Linked DNA regions of Homo sapiens: regions 1 and 3 are each linked to region 2. Evidence: promoter capture Hi-C in 16 types of primary human blood cells and fetal thymus (Javierre and others, 2016). All regions are on one chromosome and are shown on one strand. Each heading gives the region's core, a stretch centred on a gene start or on the middle of the fragment in contact. The rest is flanking DNA. Distances are from core to core; before and after follow the strand shown.

Region 1 (3,552 bases), core at 117-2,616, 110 kb after region 2:
CAATATCTCCGATGAATGTGAATGCAAAAATCCTCAACAAAATACTAGCAAACCAAATTAAATAGCATATTAAAAGAATCATATATGATAACCAAATGGGATTTACTCCAGGAATGCAAGGAGAGTTTAGCATATGAAAATCAATCTATGGGTGCAATGGCTCATGCCTGTGATCCCAGCACTTTGTGAGGTGGAGGTGGGTGGATTGCTTGAGCTCAAGAGTTCAAGACCAGCCTGGGCAACATGGCAAAACCCCATATGTATAAAAAAATATGAAAACTAGCCAGGCGTGGTGGTACATACTTGTAGTCCCAGCTACTCAGGAGCCTGAGGTGAGAGGATTGCTTGAGCTCAGGAGATTAAGGCTGTAGTGAGTCAAGATAGTGCCATTCCACTCCAGCCTGGGTGACAGCGTGAGACCCTGTCTCATTAAAAAAAAAAAAAAAGTAAGAAAAAAAGAAAAAAACAATGTAATATAACACATTAACAGAATAAAGGACAAAAATCACGATTATCTCAATCAGTGGAGAAATATCATTTGACAAGATTAAACACTCTTTCATGTTAAAACACTTAATAAAATGGGAAGAGAAGGCCAGTCCATGAACACAATTAAGACCATTTATAAAGAGGCCACAGATAACATCATACACAAGGATAAAAGACTGAAAGCTTTTTCTCTAATATCAGAAACAAGGCAAAGATGCTCACTCTTACTACTTCTATTCAACATAGAACTGAAAATTATAGCCAGAACAATTAAGCAATAAAAAGAAATAAAAGGCATCCAGATGGGAAAAGAAGAAGTAAATAATCTCTGTTTACAGAGGACAAAATCGTATACATAGAAAACTCTAATGATTCCATACACAATAAAAATCTGTTAGAACTAATAAATGAATTAAGCAAAGTTGCAAGGTACAAAACCAACACACAGAAATCAGTTGCATTTCTATACATGAATAATGAACAATCCAAAAAGGAAATTAAGAAAACAAATCCATTTACAATTTCACTCAAAACAATAAAAAGCTTAGGAATAAACCTAACCAAGGAGATGAGAAGCTTGTACACTGCAAACCATAAAACGTTGCTGAATGAAATTAAAGCAGACACTAATAAATGAAAGATATCCTGTGTTCATGGATTAGATAACTTAATATTGTTACATTGTTCATAATGTCCGAAGTGACCTACAGAGTCAATGCAATCCTTATCAAAATCCTTATGGGATCTTTTGGAGAAATAGAAAAATGTATCCTGAAATTCATTTGGTATATAAAAGGACTCCGAATAGTCAAAACAATTTTGAAAAAGAACAAAGTTGGAGGACTTACATTTCCTGATTTCAAAACATATTACAAATCTATGATAATCAAAGTAGTGTGGTACTAGCACAAAAACAAATAGACCAGTTGAATAGAATACACAGCCTATAAATTAAATTTTCATGCATGTGGTCAAATGATCTTTGACAAGGATGCCAAGACCACTCAGTGGGGAAAAACAGTCTCTTCAACAACTGATATTGAAAAAACTGGATATCTACATGCAAAAGAATGAAGTTGGGCCTTTATTTTACACCATTAACTCAAAATATATTAATGACTTAAACATAAAACCTAAATTTATAAAATTCCTATAAGAAAACATATAGGGAAAGCTTCATGACACTGGACTTGACAATGATTTATTGGATATGACACTAAAAACACAGGTAATGAAAGCAAAAATAGGTAAATGAGACTATATGAATCTTAAAAACTTTTGTGCAACAAAGGACACAATCAACAGAGTGAAAAGAGGCCAGGTGCAGTGGCTCAGGCCTGTAATCCCAGCACTTTGGGAGGCCAAGGTGGGCAGATCACCTGAGGTCAGGAGTTGGAGACCAGCCTGGCCAACATGGTGAAACCCTGTCTCTACTAAAGATACAAAAAATTAGCCAGGTGTGGTGGCATGTGCTTGTAATCCCAGCTACTTGGGATGCTGAGGCAGGAGAATCGCTTGAATCCGGGAAGCAGAGATTGCAGTGAGCCAAGATGGCGCCATTGCACTCCAACCTGGATGACAGGGTGAGACTCCGTCCAAGAAAACAGAGCGAAAAGGCAATGTGTGGAATAGAAGAAAAGATTTTCATTTCTAAAATTTGATAAGAGATTAATATCCAGAATATACAAAGAACTCTTATGTCTCATAAGCAAAAATCAAATGGCCTGATTAAAAAATGGGCAAAGAAATTGAATAGATGTTTCTTTCATGTAAGTTTCTTTCATGTAAGATAACATGTAAGTGGCCAACAGGAATATAAAAAGTTGCTCAACTTCACTAATCATCAGGAAAATTTAAGTCAAAACCACAATGAGAAAAAACTTCCAGTTTCCAGTTCTGCCTATAAGGTGCTTGGAAGTTGCCACTTCAGATTAAATACGAGGAAAAGTTGAACAGACTGACAAATCAACAACTCTTCTAGGATATGTAAGAGCACTGAAGAAACAGCAAATGCCTGCACCCAGGTTTGAAGAGGCAGACGGGAAAATACAGGAAGAGAAACTATCATGAGAGCAAGAGCTGGGAGAGGAAAACACGGACTATAATGGATGAGGTGCTGGAGGCACAGTGCAGGCAACTTTGAGAGTTAAAAACTCCAGGGGGACCCAGTCATATGAGGATCCCACAATTTTGTGAGATTTACCTCTGGGAACTTGACCAGGTTCTCACAGAAAATATTAGAGAAAAACCCTCTCATGCTTCTAGTAGGGGGAGAAAGGAATAATTTTAAAATATGCCAGAGCACTGTGTTCTTCTTCTTTCTTCTTCTTCTTCTTCATTTTTTTTTCTTACACTGTGTTCTTCTTAAAAAGGTTCTGCCCTCAGGAGACAATAGTAAACCAGGACCTACATTGCTGGGGCATTATTAAGAGTCTAACTGACCTAGAAGAAGCGTTATACAACTCTAGTCAGCTCTAGCCTTCCACATGGGAGAAGAGAAATATCCAACTTCAGACCACTCTAGCCATCCTTTCCCGCCTAAGTGGGATGGAAAAGAAAATAGAAACATTTGTGAAGCTCGCAGTCCAGAGGCCTCACTACAAATCTGAGATCTAGTCTTACTTCCCTCTCCCCACACCTCACCGCAATACTAAAGATCAAATTGCAGCGGTTCCTTTTTTCTTGGTATATTATCAGGCTATCAAGGGGGAAAAAAAAGCCATCTTAAAAGGCAAAAAATCAATGAAAGGACAGAGCAAGCATCAGAACCAGGCATAGAAGGGATGTTAGAATTAAAAACAAGATGAGGTATCACTTCAAACCTATTAGGATGGCTACTGTTAAACAAAATGAAATAAAACAGAAAATAAGTGTTGGTAAGGAGGCGGAGAAATTGGAAACCTTATGCATTGTTGGTGGGATTGTAAAGTGGTGCCACCACTATGAAAAATAGTGTGATGATTCCTCAGAACACTAAAAATAGAATTACCATATAACCCAGTAATCCCCCTTCTAGGTATATTAAAAGAAAGAAAGAAGGAAAGAAAAGAAAGAAAGAAAGAA
Region 2 (3,515 bases), core at 406-2,905:
TGGCATGGACTTAGAACTCAGTTATCACTCTTAAAATGTACTGGTTATGCCTTTGGGAGGCTGAGGCGGGCAGATCACGAGGTCAGGAGATCGAGACCACCGTGAAACTCGTCTCTACTAAAAATACAAAATATTAGCCGGGCGTGGTGGCGGGCGCCTGTAGTCCCAGCTACTCGGGAGGCTGAGGCAGGAGAATGGCATGAACCCGGGAGGCAGAGCTTGCAGTGAGCCGAGATCGCGCCACTGCACTCCAGCCTGGGTGACAGAGTGAGACTCCGTCTCAAAAAAAAAAAAATTATTGGTTATGCAACCACCTGCAGATAATAAAACCTCTAAAAGTCAGTTTTTCATGTATGTAGTAGGTATTGTCTAGTCACATACAAACAGTTGGAACAGCCCAGAAAAGGGAGAGAGTGTCATGCAGTCTTAAGAGACAGAGGTCGGTGCTCAAGCCTCATCCAGGGTCAGAAGTTGGTCTTTATAGGAGGGATCCCTAAATGCCACAAAGCCAGGATCTGTTCTCTAGTTATTTAATTAACCTAAGTTAAATTTCTTGGATGAGGGGTAGGGATGGGGTGACTGCAGTTTAGATTAATTCTGCAGAATGCACTTGAGTGGGTATTGAAAAAACCAGTTTTTCCATATGCAGATTTCCAGTTAATCTACTAGTCATAAGCTAATGGATCCTGCCATTTTTCATATCTGACATTTCTATGTCCTATGACGGTTTCACAGGTAGCTAGGCTCTCCTCCATTATTTCCCTCTGTATGGTGTTGGCTGCATTTTTCTCTGATTTTACTTCTTCATCAATGATCACATCTCCATCTACTCTCCATTTTCCAGGAATTAGTTGAAATTTTTCATCAACTAATAGGACCCTGAGCCTTTGTGTTATTGTTTTAGACTAACAAATTTTTATTCACTTAATTCAATTTTAGTGGAATTTTAGAAGAAATAGGAGATAAAATCTATGTTTGCTATGTTGTATTCGATAGTAAATTTCTGAACACCTCATTTTAAAATTAGATTTTTTTCTTTTATGTCATTACCTTGAATTATTTTAACAGAGTTATTTCTGTTTCTTAAATATATATTTTTTAGTTCAGAAGTCCTCTGCATAATTCATGTTTTACCTCAGTTTAATGTTAATATTATAAAGCATACAGGAAAGCAAATAGCTTTCAGAATTTTTAAGGTATTATCTAGACAATACAATGCATTTAGAGAGGAGGATAAAAGACATAGGGCCCCTTTCTGTAACTTTCGTAATAAAATCCCTTCTTTTTCTTGTTCTGTTTCCCAAATAGCTATCCTACTTTGGAGAAGATGCTGGAAATTCAGAGTTTCCGCCAGAGAATATATGCCTGAACTAAAAGAGGAAGTGGTCTATAGGAGAAAATGGTGAGATATCTTCTGTGGTATTAATAAAAGTTAAAAGCATTTCAAGTTTAGGCAGAAAACTAACTGAAAAACGAGAACCTACTGTATGGTTAGTAATTTCTTCCATGTCATACAAGTATTCGAGAAATCTGCTACCTTGATTAGTAAGACTGAACACATTGGTTTTGTCATTTATTCATGGAGGAAGTCCACCACCCACTTGGGGAGCAGAAGGAAATTTGCCATCTCAATTTACTTATCAGAAGTTTCTTTGCAGAAATATGATTGTCCCTTCAGTGGGACATCATTTGTGGTCTTCTCTCTCTTTTTGATCTGTGCAATGGCTGGAGATGTAGTCTACGCTGACATCAAAACTGTTCGGACTTCCCCGTTAGAACTCGCGTTTCCACTTCAGAGATCTGGTAAGCTGGATTTAGGGTGCCTTTGAGAATTAAGATTTTACTAGTTATCTCCTTTATTTCTTTCTTATGTATCTAATTGCCAAACTGAAAAGAGGAGATTGGATTCAAAGCAAAATTCATTGAATGCTAAGAATAAGAGCGAATGTTTTTAATGAAGCAAAATGTCTGTTCATAAAATAAATTGCCACTTTGGTTTTAATATGTAGAACTTTGCTTCTGTTTTCATAGCCTTTCTATTTCTTGATTTCTCGTGATGAATGTTTATATTCACACAGCAACTTCTAGCGGGATCACGCCTTTCTGCTCCACAGCTTTGCTCACTCTCAATCAAATCTGACCTTTTAACATAATGTGATAAATTCATCTCCACTGGGAAAAATACCTGTGGCAATTTACTCATATTGTTATTTATTCTTTTACAATATCAATAGGATAAAAATGTAAACTTAAGAAAACATGAAACGTTAGATTTAATTTTATAAAGTCTAGAATTAATGACTAGGTAATTGAATATTTCTGGAATCAGAGGCGATAAGCATATGCCTAAACTTAACATGGTGCCTTCATCACCAAACCCCCTCAAAAATTATAGATTTTCATAGCCAGTGTCTTTTCTATTCTTTGAAGTATTAAGGAAATTTCTCTGTCTTGTTACATTTCCATTCTCTGCTCTAGGGTAAGAATTTTTGTAGCATAGAGTTTATGTAGGTGTTTTAAATAATTTAAAGTTCCTCCTTTGTATTTGCCCTTGTGGAATGAATCTGCTACTTTGTTCGTATTTCCAAGGAATGTATTTCTTCTTTATATTTTCAAAAGTTTATAGTTATCAAAGGAATCTAGTGTGTGTCCTTTTCTGGTTGTAAAAGCATCTTGTTTCTTATTTTAAACCTTACCTCTCTATTTTACCCAGCAGAGGCTAACTTGCTTTCTTTTCTTCCAGCTTAGGCACTTTCACTTCCTATGAAATAGTGAAACATAATTTGAAAAATAACATGGACTAGAACTGCACTGTCATTCCCCTATGCTTCAAAAATGTCCTGTAGTTAGTTTCTTTTTCTAGAGGTTATTTTACTCAGTTTAAGCAACAAAACCAATATTTTTGATTCCGCATTCCAGGGTTTAATTGCCTTTCTGTCTATGGTTTGAACTTTTATAAATAAAACCTTATTCTTTTCCCAGTTTAGGGATGTGGGGCAACATCTTTTAATGTGATCTAGTTCAATCTTAGAATGCTAAAAATGAGAAAACGAACTATATGAAGATTAAATTACCTACCTATAGTCATGCTTATGACCAGAAGTCAAATATCATATTGTTCTTGTGCTGTATACGTGTGGTGTTAGATAAACGCAACTTTTGTTCTCATGCGTCACTTCGCCATCAAGCGAAAGAGCTGTTGGATAGATTAGATTTTTGTTGTCTTACATACAGAGTCCTACACAATTGTTCCTGATCTCTTCTAACCTCATACCTTTCACTGATTTTGCTCTGGCTATTGGCCTTTTCTTTTCTCCTAAAGGTTGTCATATTCCTTACCATTTCAGAGCCTCATAAAATGCTGAATCTTTCTACATAATCTATTAATCTTTGTGTTTCTAGCACCTCACACCGTACTAAATATAGAGCAGGAAATTAATAGATGCTTGATAAGTAAAATAATTTATAAATGGCTGAATAAATAAATGAATCGCATTAGACGATGAATGTATATA
Region 3 (3,146 bases), core at 232-2,731, 77 kb before region 2:
GTGCTTGACTTCCTTCATGAATATTCATAAGTATTCACAGAATTTTCCCAACCCTGCTCAGTATGTATGTAAAACTGACTGTATAAGACATGTATACCAGCCCCCTCTCACTTCTTCAGAGAGTGAACTTTCGGATTTTCCCGAAAGCTGCATTTCCCTAATTCTAGGGTTATTTTTCCCTCTGAAAATAAAGTCTTCTCCTTTCCTTCCTTTGTGGATCTCATGGTCTTTTGATAATGAAGATAATAAAAGATCCAATTCCGCCTAATATCTTAAGTCCAACTTTTATCTAATTTAACACTTTTCCTCTCTCTCAGCTTGGATTGGATCTGCTTAGTTTGGGACCATTAAGGGGGCAAGTGAGTATAACGGGCTCTGCATGAGCTTCTTCCCTCTCTAGTATCTCTTTCCATTCCCCAACCCTGATCCCCAGAATGAGTGAAGGTGAAACAAAGGGAATAGAAATAAACACGGAATAAAGATGTTACCAGCCTGGACAGTTTTAATCTGTATGCTGACACTCCAAATGTTTTCTCTCTTTTTTTTTTTTTTTTTGGACTACTTCTATGGGTTTTTCAGAAATTCTGCTCCTGGGGTACTCTGCAGTTGTCTGATGTGTGATGTCTCCTTTGGCAATCCTGCTTGCAAATCACTGTACCTCACCCCTCACAACTCCCCAGGTACCTTTTTTTTTTTTGCTTTCTACTCTATACTTCCAGCTTCTTTTCATTGAGGCTGACTTGCCTGTGGTAAGAAGCAGTCTTAGGTGAATTTTATTTTAGGATGGTTCCCAAATGGCTGCTTTGTATGAGATCTTCATCCGGCCCACAGGAAACACTCCCTTCAGCCTCACCATTGCTGGAAGTGTGGCTTAATCTACACATCTGCTTTTACTCTGTGGTTATGTGTAGTTCTAACAAACTCACATACTGAAAGTGTTCACCTCTGCAACCTCCAACTCCCAGAGGACACTTGCCAATATATGACAGAATCCAAACTTGGCTTAAGGTAAAAGAGAAGTTCTTTTGCTTATTGACACAGAAAGATATTGGGAAATGGGAAGTACACTGGCAAGTCACTTCATAAAAAAAATTCTCACTTCCTAATCTCTGAACACTCATAAACTCTTAATGTGCTCTGAAAGTAGATGATAGATCGAAATTTGAAATAAACACTTTTGCAAGCTTGTTAGCATGTCCTATATAGGAGGTCTAGCACCTATAGAATTGTTCTTGACATTTGTGCCCTCAGATAAAAGTAAACAGCAGGAATGACCACATTTTAATATCCTACTAGTCATTCAATATTTATGAATTATTTTCTGAGGACTTATTACATGTCAGACACTGTTTGGGGAGTCTATTTTAGACTTCAAACATCTTTTAAAAACAAACATTTCATTAAACTATAGGTGAAAATTTAAGCATATAGTCATTAAGTTTGTGAATCAGACCTATCTTGGAGAGGAATTTAATTTGTTTAAATTTATCAAAGGACACACAAAAGATAAGCCCTAGTTATTCTAACCACTTATTAACACAGCTACCTGCGATTTCTGGGAGCTTAACTTCCGTTCAGGCTCAGAAACTCTAATTTTGGGAATATACTTGGACCACATTGTTAATTTGGGAGGATTCAGATAAAGTATGAGAAATGCATTCACATTTGACTATGAGAACATCAAGTTATATTGTATAATACCAAAAATAATGGTCCCTTGAATATATCCAGGATGACCTACAAACAGAATTGTTCCTAGATAAAAACCCTCAAGCTTGTAGAAAATCTATGTTGACACTCACTATTCAGATGTTGTCATTCACAACTCTGAGTTTCAGTGATTTAATGATGAAATTTAGGACTGAGAAGCTTGTTTCTTGCAGATTTATCAACCTTGCTAATTGATCTTTATGTCATTCTCCTTTTGTATACTTCAGGTAAATAAATAAATATTTGATTTATTCATGGGGTGATTTTGTTTGATACATTAATCCATAGGCACAGTCAATATTTTCAAAACAGTAGTTTTACATCAAATAAAGCAGCATTAAAAAAAACAGATTTATCAATAGAATAACAACTTTTGAAAGTGGAACTTATTTTTTTAAATCAATTTTCTTAACCTAAGTTTAAATCTAAGTAACCCGCTTTTTCCAACAATAATAACAATTTATCTTTGAATACTACACAAAATCTCATGACATAATCAAAATTAACTGGGGTATATGGATGCTTCTTTCAAGAATTGGTATCAATTCTGCCTTCTGGAGCCAGTAAACTAAGCGTAACATCAATATGACAGCTGTTGGAACAATTTACGTTAACAAACTTATTCCCAGCAGCCCTTTTCCTGATTCTGGCTAAGTAGCTTTAGTTCCTGGAAATAATACTTAAGTTACGGTTTCAACTAATTCAAATCCCTGTTTTTTCTCATCTGTACTCTTAAAAGTAGGCATTTACATATGTGCATGTATGCAGAGGAAAACTAAGAGAAAGTTAAGATGGTTTGAAACAATCACATAAAAATTATTTCAAAGAATTGGGCCAGGAATGGAGGAAAAAAGTCCCACCCTTTCTTTTTAGATATATTTGTATTGATTTTACCTAAAATTCATTACTTCACACAATCTTATTTTGAGCTTGTTGGTCATTGAATTTCCCCTAGTGCTCTTGCATACATCTACAAATAAAGGCAATTCTTCCCATCTTGTTAACTTCTTCAGTTTAGATTTTAATACACTTAAAAAATTCATCTCGCTAAACTCTCAATTTTCTCCGAAATGCAGAATGTTTGGAGTTTATGATTCTATTACTCAGTGTATTAGATATCCAAGTTGTATGTCATCTATACATTGAATATATTAACCTAAGCATTTATAAAATGTGGAGTAAGAGAGAATGAAATGCAAAACATTCTGGCATATAGAAAATGATCTCTCTCCTAACTAATGGCACCTAACCTGAGGTAGCACTGCTTTCATGTAGATATTATAGCATTCTGTGGCATACATCTCAGTGAAAATCATATACATGATACATTCATTGTTTTCCAAAACCATTAATGTGATAAGTCTTTTAACACCAAGAATACGAGGTCATTCTAGCATGACTTGCCTGCTTACTCATATTACACATATGGATATTTA

What was found. The method cuts DNA at HindIII sites, captures the fragments that hold promoters and counts their contacts. A CHiCAGO score of 5 or more calls a contact.
Region 1: a fragment that was not itself captured here is called in contact with the fragment with the promoter of CLECL1 in region 2 in 8 of 17 cell types (total B cells, total CD4 T cells, non-activated CD4 T cells and 5 more); the score reaches 15.2 in total B cells.
Region 3: a fragment that was not itself captured here is called in contact with the fragment with the promoter of CLECL1 in region 2 in 1 of 17 cell types (total B cells); the score reaches 5.4 in total B cells.

The regions. Positions count from the first base shown.
Region 1 is chr12:9,619,188-9,622,739 of GRCh38, reverse strand. It overlaps the pseudogene LOC374443. Among named protein-coding and RNA genes, the nearest start is that of KLRB1, 13 kb to the right of the region's middle. The HindIII fragment of the contact is 598 bases long and covers 1,068-1,665 here.
Region 2 is chr12:9,731,237-9,734,751 of GRCh38, reverse strand. CLECL1 (C-type lectin like 1) reads left to right here and starts at 1,655. Exons shown (of 2, transcript NM_001441815.1): 1 at 1,655-1,803. The coding sequence starts at 1,722. The HindIII fragment of the contact is 6,540 bases long and covers 1-3,515 here.
Region 3 is chr12:9,808,729-9,811,874 of GRCh38, reverse strand. It overlaps a transcript of KLRF1 not described here. Among named protein-coding and RNA genes, the nearest start is that of KLRF1, 17 kb to the left of the region's middle. The HindIII fragment of the contact is 590 bases long and covers 1,187-1,776 here.